Regions from separate parts of the Homo sapiens genome. Here region 1 is linked to region 2. Evidence: promoter capture Hi-C in human tissues and cell types (Jung and others, 2019). All regions are on one chromosome and are shown on one strand. The core of a region is centred on a gene start or on the middle of the fragment in contact, and the rest is flanking DNA. Distances in the headings are between cores, read along the strand shown. Region 1 overlaps FLYWCH1 (FLYWCH-type zinc finger 1). Region 2 holds the start of PRSS21 (serine protease 21).

Region 1 (4,950 bases), core at 580-3,079, 100 kb before region 2:
CAGCCCAAGACACTGCGACTCCGGAGGCAGCCCAAATATCCTCGGAAGAGCGCCCCCAGGAGAAACGAGCTTGACCACTATGCGATCATCAATTTTCCACCGACCACTGAGTCTGCCATGAAGAAGACAGAAGACAACACACTTGTCTTCACTGTGGATGTTAAAGCCAACAAGCACCAGCTCAAACAGGCTGTGAAGAACTCTGTGAGGTGGTTGTGGCCCAGGTCAATACCCTGATTGGGCCTGATGGAGAGAAGAAGGCACATGTTCCACTGGCTCCTGATCAGGATGCTTTGGGTGTGGCCAACAAAATGGAGATCATGTAAACCGAGTCCGGCTGGCTAATTCTAAATATATGTATATCTTTTCACCATAAAAAAATCTGCAACATACGACATGCCAGGCACAAGGGGACAAACACTGTCTGATTCCACTTGTATGAGGTCCCCAGGGCAGTCAAACTTATGGGGACAGAAAGTAGAATGGGGGTGCCAGGGGCAGGAGGATGAGGAGGGAGTGTTTCATGGGCACAGAGCAGCCGTTGGGGAAGATGAAAAGGTTCTGGAGATGGACGGTGGTGACGGATGAACAATGAATGTGAACCGCTGACCTGGACACTTCAACATCGAGGCTCAGGGAGAGCAGCTGCTCACAAAGACCAAGGGTTGTAGGATGCAATTTACATGAATGACCAATATGGTAAATTTTACGTCATGTATATTTAACCCTACACACACACACACACACACACACGAGCCATCTGTAACAAACTATACACAAAACACCCCATTTCCCTAACATTATCAGTGAATAAGCTTCTCCCTACAAGGTAGATTTTCTAGTAACTAAAGTTATCCCGCCATGATTCAGAATATGATTTTTATCTGATTCAAAATGTACCCATTTAAGATGGATTCTTTTTTTTAACTCTGTCACCCAGTTGCCCAGGCAGGAGTGCAGTGGCACGATCTCAGTTCATTGCAACCTCTGCCTCCCGGGTTCAAGTGATTCTCCCGCCTCAGCCTCCTGAGTAGCTGGGACTACAGGCGCGCGCCACCACACCTAGCAAATTTTTGTATTTTTTAGTAGAGATGGGGTTTCACCATATTGGCCAGGATGGTCTCGAACTTCCGACCTCATGATCTGCCTGTCTTGGCCTCCCAAAGTGCTGGGATTACAGGTGTGAGCCACCACACCCGGCCAGAATGAATACCTTTTATTTTTTATTTTAGTGGCAGGATTTCACTACAGCCTAAACCGGAGTGTGGTGGCGTGATCACTACAGCCTCTGCCTCCCAGGCTCAAGCCATCTTCCCACCTCAGCCTCCAGAGTAGCTGGGACCACAGGCGCACACTACCATGCCCGGCTAATTTCTGTATTCTTTGTAGAGACGGGGTTTTGCCAGGTTGCCCAGCCTGGTTTTTTAATTAAATTAAAAAAAAATATTTTGGTAATGACAGGGTCTTGCTATATTTCCAGGTTGGTTTTGAACTCCTGGGATCAAGCGATCCTCCCACCTCAGCCTCCCAAGCACCGGATGGATGCCTCTATAAGCTCTTCTCACCCGCTTCCCTGTCCAGAGAAAGGGAGCAACCATCCTCCCTCTGGCTTTAGAAGCAAAAAAAAAAAAAGTCCTAAAATTGATGGTGGTGATACTTGGACAGCTTTCTGAATATATTAAAAGCAATGAATTGTAGACTTAAAAAGTCCTAAAATTGATGGTGGTGATACTTGGACAGCTTTCTGAATATATTAAAAGCAATGAATTGTAGACTTTAGATGGAGAAATCATATGGTATTATGTAAATTATATCTCAGGAAAGTTATTGAAAAACAATCCCTGTCTGGGAATGGTGGCTCACGCCTGTAATCCCAGCACTTTGGGAGGCCGAGGCGGGCAGATCACGGGGTCAGCAGATCGAGACCATCCGGGCTAACACAGTGAAACCCCGTCTCTACTAAAAACACAAAAAATTAACTGGGCGTGGTGGCGGGCGCCTGTAGTCCCAGCTACTCGGAAGGCTGAGGCAGAAGAATCGCTTGAACCCGGGAGGCAGAGGTTGCAGTGAGCTGAGATCGCGCCACTGCACTCCAGCCTGGGCGACAGAGTGAGACTGTCTCAAAAAAAAAAAAAAAAAAAAAGGCCAGGCGTTGTGGCTCACGCCTGTAATCCTAGCACTTCGGGAGGCCAAGGTGGGCAGATCACCTGAGGTGGGGAGTTTGAGACCAGCCCGACCAACATGGAGAAACCCCGTCTCCACTAAAAATACAAAAATAGCCAGGCATGGTGGCATATGCCTGCAATCCCAGCTACTCGGGAGGCTGAGGCAGGAGCTCACGCTATTGCACTCCAGCCTGGGCAACAAGAGCAAAACTCCATCTCAAAAAAACAAAAACAAACAAACAAACAATGGTCAGAATGACTCAGATTCCAAGGGTCTCTTGGTGGAAAAGTGTTTTTTTTTTTTTTTAAGACAGAGTCTCACGGCCACCCAGGCTGGAGTGCAATGGCGTAATCTTAGCTCACTGCAACCTCCGCCTCCTGGGTCAAGCGATTCTCAGGCCTCAGCCTCCTGAGTAGCTGGGATTATAGGCACCTGAAACCACACATGGCTAAATTTTGTTTTGTATTTTTAGTAGAGATGGAGTTTCACCATTTTGGCCAGGCTGGTCTCGAACTCCTGGCCTCTAGTTACCTACCTGCCTCCTAAAGTGCTGGGATTACAGGTGCTCTACTAAACATCAGAAGCTTCTTGTTCTTGGGTTTGGTTTACTCATCAAAGAAGGGGTGGCATGCATTATATGTTGTGAAATTTTCTAAGTTCTAATATCATATTCTAAAAATATATAGAAACTATTTCAGAATGTTAAGACTATAATACTAAAATGACCCCTAATCCTGCCACTCAAATGCACAACTACTTCCATTGTTGAACTAATGCCTTTAAGGCGCTTGCTTTTCTGTAGCACACACTGCGTTCAATCATGTCTGCTACTGTATCCCCCTCGAGAGCAGGAAGCCCCCACCAGAGGCCACCTGGAGTCTTTCCAAAGGACCATTACATAAGGCAGGACCACCCGTCACGGGGGAAGCGCAAATTTAAATCCTCAGCAGCAATACTCCATATGGCCACAAGATGGTGGTGTTGCTCCTGAAATGTTCCTATTGCCTTGGTAAAATTACACGGGTGGCAATGTTTTCAAACAAGAATTTGGAAATTTTTCCAAGTTGGAAAAAAAATTCAAGAGGATTTCCAAAATGTTATATTTACAAAAAGTAGTACTTCGAGCTGGGCATGGTGGTGCGTATGTGTAGTCCCAGCCACTTGGGAGGTTGTGGCAGGAAAATGGCTTGAGCCCAGGAGTTTGAAGCCAATCTGGGCAACATCACATGACCCCATCTCAAGAAACAAAAAATAGGCCAGACGCGGTGGCTCACGCCTGTAATCCCAGCACTTCGGCAGGCCAAGGCAGGCGGATCACGAGGTCAAGAGATCGAAACCATCCTGGCAAACATGGTGAAACCCCGTCTCTACTAAAAATACAAAAATTAGCTGGGTGTGGTGGCGCATGCCTGTAATCCCAACTACTCGGGAGGCTGAGGCAGGAGAATCGCTTGAACCCAGGGGGCAGAGGTTGCAGTGAGCCGAGACCATACCACTGTACTCCAGCCTGGGAGACAAAGCAAGACTCCGTCTCAAAAAAAAAAAAAGAAACAAAAAATTAAAACAAATGAATAAATATACACGCATATATCAGAGAGCAGCTGGGTGTGGTGGCTCACGCCTGTAATCCCAGCACTTTGGGAGGCTGAGGTGGGTGGATCACAACGTCAGGAGATCGAGACCACCTTGGATAACATCTACTAAAACACAAAAGATTAATCAGGAGTGGTGGTGAGCACCTGTAATCCCAGCTACTTGGGAGGTGGAGGCAGAAGAATTGCTTTGGAGGTTGCAGTGAGCCGAGATCATGCCACTGCACTCCAGCCTGGGCAAAAGAGGGAGACTCTGCCTCAAAAAAGAAAAAAAAAGAAAGCAAAATCCAATTAACAAATTCAGTAAAGACTATCTTTCTAAACAAGTTTTTGTTTCCAAAAAAGACCAAAATATTACTTGGACAAGACACTACGTTCTAGCCCTCAATCCACTGGTCTTTCCTACTATTTCCTTTCTATTCTGGTCATATTTGTTATTCATTGGCGAATTTTATTTTACATGTTTATAACTTAAAAACATTTAAGGCCAGGCACGGTGGTTCACGCCTCTAATCCCAGCACTTTGGGAGGCCGAGGCAGGCGGATCACCTGAGGTCGGGAGTTTGAGACCAGCCTGACTAAAATGGAGAAACCCCGTCTCTACTGAAAATACAAAAATTAGATGGTCATGTTGGTGCATGCCTGTAATCCCAGCTATTCAGGAGGCTGAGGCAGAAGAGTCACTCGAAACCGGGAGGTGGAGGTTGCAGTGAGCCAAGATCCTGCCATTGCACTCCAGCCTGGGCAACAAGAGCAAAACTCCCTCTCAAAAAAAAAAAAGCCTGGCGCGGTGGCTCACGCCTGTAATCCCAGCACTTTAGAAGGCCAAGGCAGGCGGATCACGAGGTCAGGAGATCGAGACCATCCTGGCTAACACGGTGAAACCCCGTCTCTACTAAAAATACAAAAAATTAGCTGGGCGCGGTGGCGGCCGCCTGTAGTCCCAGCTACTCGGGAGGCTGAGGCAGGAGAATGGTGTGAGCCTGGGAGGCGGAGCTTGCAGTGAGCCGAGATTGCCCCACTGCACTCCAGCCTGGGCGACAGAGCGACACTGTCTCAAAAAAAAAAAAAAAAAAAAGGAATCCAAGGCCAGGCACAGTGGCACATACCTCTAATTCCAGCACTTTGGGAGGCCGAGGTGGGTGGATCACTTGAGGTCAGGAGTTCAAGACAAGCCCGGCCAACATGGCAA
Region 2 (4,871 bases), core at 310-2,809:
GATAGATATTCGATACGAAGTAACGGGTGTAGTAGGCCTGCAGGCTCCAGAAGGATGGCATGGAAGTCAGCTGGCCAAACTGGACCATCCACCCGGAGGGATCACTAAGGTCACTATAGCTGGCAGAAGAGAAGAGAGCAGTCAGGGGCCCTGGATGGAGGGCTGGCTACCTGAGCACAACTGGGGTCCAGTGCAGGAGGGGAAACTGTGGTGTTGCTGCTACTTGCTAACACCCAGGGTCCCCTGCAGAAATGAAGGAGCCCAGACAGACCACAACCAAAGTCCTAGGACCTGCTCCTGCAGCAGAAGGGTGGGGTCTTGTCACCTCCCAGAGCTGTCCCAAGGAGCCTTGCATTGAGCCAAGGCCTCCAGGGGCACCCCCATGCAGCCCAAGGAGGAATGGGGAGATGCACCACGCCAATGTGGGATTGGCAGGATGGAGTCCACACAGCGGCCCGGGGGTGCTGGCCTTGGCTCAGTGCCCCACACTGTACCGCACCGTCCACCAGGAGGGGGGATGAGGGTGGGATGGTCAGTGGTGAACTTTGGGTTGAAAGAAAAAGGGAGAGAATACCCAAAAGTGTGTGGAAATGTTCTGGAAGAACATTCTGGAATAACCTGAACAGGGTTCCCTCCAGGAGACCCAAAGGGAACTGGAGTGGGTGTAACCGGCTGCAGCACAGCCTGGGGCTCAGGAGAACACCAGGCCGCATCCACGCACAACTTTCACGCCCAAGTCTGGCATCAGACCAGAGGTAAAGTTCGGTGGCACTCCCTCCAGCCCTGTTCCTGCCCGTCCCCGCACCCCTCCGTTCGCACCCCCACTCACGTTTCAAAGCAGTGCGCCGCCGTGAGTGCCCAGCGGTGGCTGAGCAGGCTCACTCCGCATACGTGGGAATCCCACAGGCGCAGGCTCCCCTGCCACGGCCAACGCCCGAGTTCGGCGTCCTCTCCACCCACGATGCGCGACGTGATGACCCGTCGGCCGCATGGTCCTCGGATGGTCAGAGGAACTGCTGAGCCGCGGGAGGCAGCCCCCCAAGCCCGACCTCTCCCTTTCTCCCCTTCAACCCCGTCCGGGAAAGCACGTTTTTGCCCACCCAGGGTCCCCTCGCGTGTGTGCAGCAGGAAGTAGGTGACACTGGAGATCCTCCCACGTGCTCTGCAGGGCCCGCCCATCCCCCTCCAGCGTCCGTTAGTTACTTTCCACGCCAACAGAGTTCTCGATCCCGGGGGCGGGGGCGAGAGAGCAGTAAAGGCCCCCCTCTACCCCCTCACCGCCCCCCGTCCACCTCGGCCCAACGGCCCTGGCAGGAATCGCGCGTCCTGGGCGCCCTACCTGATAACGGCGCCGCCTCCTGCGACTCTGCGGGAGACAAGAAGTGACTCCCCGCGGCCTCCACCTCCCGTCCTCCCCACCGCTCCCCCGCCTCCCCATCCCGCCAGCAGCGCCCCGAGCTCACCCGGCTTCCTGAGTCCAGCCCGAGCCAGCAGCAGCGCCAGCAGCAGCGCCCCGCGCGCGCCCATGGCCTCCTCTCCCGCGGCCTGACGCCCCCTCTGCCTCCTCTCGCGCCGGGCCCGGGGCGCCCCCTGGGGGCGGGGCGGGGTGGGAGCTCTGCCCTCTACTCCCAGCTTCACCCTCCTGGGCCCAAGGGCTGTTTGGGGCCTCTCATGCCTGGCAGCGCCCTGGCTTTCAGCCCCTAGGGGCGGGTCTTCAACCACACTTCTTGATGTGGCCCAGACCCGGTGGACCCCACAGTCCCTTTCTTGTCTGCAGCCCAGGGGTCCCGGCTGCCCTCTTGGTGACCCCGTCCTCCACCTACAACCTCCTCCAGCACCAAGGGCCTGGCCCTGAGCCAGGAGTCCCCTTAAAGCCTGGGGACCCCCTGAAGGCCGGGTGGGGCCTAGAGGCATGGCTGCTCCTTCATGGGACCTTCTTGGGAAAACAGTGGTCCTCGGCCCGTTCCACCCAGAATGGGGATCTCCCCAAGTCTCTGCCCAGGCTGTCCCCACTGCGGGCTCCCGCTGGGCTCTCTTCACTTCTCTGGAACAATTTTTTTTTTTTTTGAGATGGAGTTTCGCTCTTGTCGCCCAGGCTGGAGTGCATTGGCGTGATCCCAGCTCACTGCAACCTCCACCTCCTGGGTTCAAGCGATTCTCCTGCCTCAGCCTCCCAAGTAGCTGGGGTTACAGGCGCGCGCCAGCACACCTGGCTCATTTTTGTATTTTTAGTACAGACGGGGTTTCGCCATGTTAACCAGGCTGGTCTCCAACTCCTGACCTCAGGTAATCCGCCCACCTCGGCCTCTCAAAGTGCTGGGATTACAGGCATGAGCCACCGCGCCCAGCTGCAATTCCACTTCTGAGCATACACCCAAAAGAACTGAAAGGAAGGTCTTCAAGAGATATTTGTTTTTGGTTTTTTGGGGGGATTTAGTTTTGTTTGTTTTTGAGATGGAGTCTTGCTCCATCGCTCAGGCTGGAGTGCAGTGGTGCGATCTTGGCTCACTGCAACATCTGCCTCCTGGGTTCAAGTGATTCTCCTGTCTCAGCCTCCAGAGTAGCTGGGATTAGAGGCACCTGCCACCATGCTTAGCTAATTTTTGTATTTTTAGTAGAGATGGGGTTTCGCCATGTTGGCCAGGCTGGTCTTGAACTTCTGACCTCAGGTGATCTGCCCTCTGCGGCCTCCCAAAGTGCCAGGGTGAAGGTGTGAGCCACCCCACCCAGCCTTCAAGAGATATTTGTATACCCATGTTCATAGCAGGATTATTCACAGTAGCTGACATGAAAGCAACCCAAGAATCCATTGACCACTGAACAGATCAGTGAAAATGGGAATGTACAACCAGAACCTGGGAATCCCGCCTCCCTCAACTTGAAACTTGGGAATAGCGTATTCTACTTTCAACACTTGCACTAGTGGAAGGTTAATTACATGAAAGATTAGGCAAAATGTGTGGTTAGGCGTTCTGGTTTTCCAATAAAAGTATTAAGTTTCTTTGGGGAAAGTACAGATAAAATGCTTAGCACAGAGCATGGTACCAACGGGAACTCAATGAGGGCGCAGCGGGTGTGTGGGAGCTTCGGGTTTCAGGAGCACAAGGCTGCGGTGCCTTCCCTCAGGGCCTCCTTCCCCAGCAGCAGCTGCTCAAGGACAAGTCACATGCACAGCCTGGCCTTGGCCTGCTGGGTTGGGGCAAAGGTCCCTGGGCTTCTGATCCTGCCCCTCTCCCAGCCAGCAGGACGTTCCCTCTGGTTCCTGAGTCCCAGGGATCCGCTGAGGCCCCTAGGAGGTGTCAGCTCCTGGTTTTGCCCAGGGTCTCAGTCAGGCCAGTCCTACCCGGAGATCTGAGCCAGGGACTCAGGTTCTTGCCTCCAGTGAGGCTGGGGGCTTCCCGCAGAGGCCAAGCCTGGCCCGGGGGCTGCAGGGAGGCCCTGGCTGCTGCATGGGCTGCAGATGGAGACTCTCTTGTCTGCTGTGCCTCAGGCTGCAGAGTCACAGAGGGGTCTTCCCAAGCCCCACACCTGGAGGGCAGGGAGGACAGGGACTTGTGGTCCTAACCCGACTCCTGACACATAAGGGCCAGCCGGCCCGGAGCCACCTCTGCGGGCAGGAGAAGGCCTCATTGTTCCCTTCTCCTGGCAGAATGAGGACTGGGGCGTGCCCGGGGCAGGAAATAAATGCTCAGTAAATCCCTCTCTTGGGAGCCCTGATCCCAAGGGACAAAGGGCCTGTGTTGAGTCTCCCTGGGCACGGGCTCGGGGCCAGCACTTGGGCCATGGCAGATGGAGGGTGGGAGGAGGGTGCCTCCCACCAGGTGGGCTTCTTCCCCAGGTCAGGCATGCAGGTGAGGAGCGTCCTCGTGTGTGCATGCCCCCTGCGTGCAGGAGAGGCTGGGCGGGTGTGTGTGTCTGGGTGTATGTGTGTGCATGCATCTTCAAGTGCACGTGTGTGAACGACCATGTGTGATCCCCGTTCTCGTGCCATCTGAACATCCCCTCCAGTGTGCATTTGGGTGAGTCCTGGCGCCCCTCTGGCCAGGCTGCTAACTATCCCTTCCACCAAGTCCCCTCAACCTCAGCTGGTGCTTCTGGAGTCCTGGCCCAAGTGACTCTCCTTCTGGGCGCCAAACCCTGTCAGCCTGGAGTTAGAAAGAAGGCCCCTGAACTGCCAGCAAAACATGGAAAGACAGGTCGGGTGCCATGGCTCAAGCCTGTAATCCCAGCACTTTGGGGAGCCGAGGCGGATGGATCACAAGTTCAGGAGTTCGAGACCAGCCTGGCCAACATGGTGAAATCCTGTCTCTACTAAAAGTACAAAAAATAGCTGGGCATGGTGGTGGGCACCTGTAATCTCAGCTACTCTGGAGGCTGAGGCAGGAGAATCATTTGAACCTGGGAGGCAGAGGTTGCGGTGAGCCGAGATCGCACCATTGCACTCCAGCCTGGGTGAGAGGGCGAGAGTCCGTGTTTAAAAAAAAAAAAAAAACAAAAAACAAAACAAAACAAAACATGGAAAGGTGCCCTTAGGCTGGGCTAGCGCGAGAACACAGCCCGCTTTGTGGCACCTCCAAGCTCCTGCCTCTGAGAGCTGTGCTGGCCAAGGGCTTGGCCTCTTCCACCTCCACCTCCCTGAAGGAGGCTCCTCCTGAGAGGGACTCCGCTGCCCACTCCCTGTGCCTGGCCCCTGCTATCCCTGAAAGTCAGAGGAATGCTGGACGGGTGGTGCAGAGGGGTGGGAGCTGGGTGGGTGGTGCAGAGGGATGGGAGCTGGGTGGGTGGTGCAGAAGGGTGGGAGCAGAGGTACAGTGGGGGCCTCATCTTGGCACATCAGTCAGTGGGAGCCCAGCTCTGACCAGCCCCTCCAG

The links. The method cuts DNA at HindIII sites, captures the fragments that hold promoters and counts their contacts. A contact is called where the count stands out against the background at its distance.
Region 1: a contact is called between a fragment that was not itself captured here and the fragment with the promoter of PRSS21 in region 2, in 7 of the 25 tissues and cell types used here (H1 embryonic stem cells, IMR-90 fibroblasts, heart left ventricle and 4 more).

What each region holds. Positions count from the first base shown.
Region 1 is chr16:2,918,034-2,922,983 of GRCh38, reverse strand. All of the region lies in intron 2 of FLYWCH1 (FLYWCH-type zinc finger 1), which reads right to left. It also overlaps the pseudogene RPL23AP86. Among named protein-coding and RNA genes, the nearest start is that of FLYWCH1, 8.6 kb to the right of the region's middle. The HindIII fragment of the contact is 4,857 bases long and covers 1-4,257 here.
Region 2 is chr16:2,813,925-2,818,795 of GRCh38, reverse strand. PRSS21 (serine protease 21) reads right to left here and starts at 1,559. Exons shown (of 6, transcript NM_006799.4): 1 at 1,464-1,559; 2 at 1,340-1,366; 3 at 830-995; 4 at 1-119. The coding sequence starts at 1,527. RefSeq lists silencers at 1,242-1,301, 1,412-1,691 and an enhancer at 3,357-3,857. The HindIII fragment of the contact is 10,567 bases long and covers 1-3,207 here.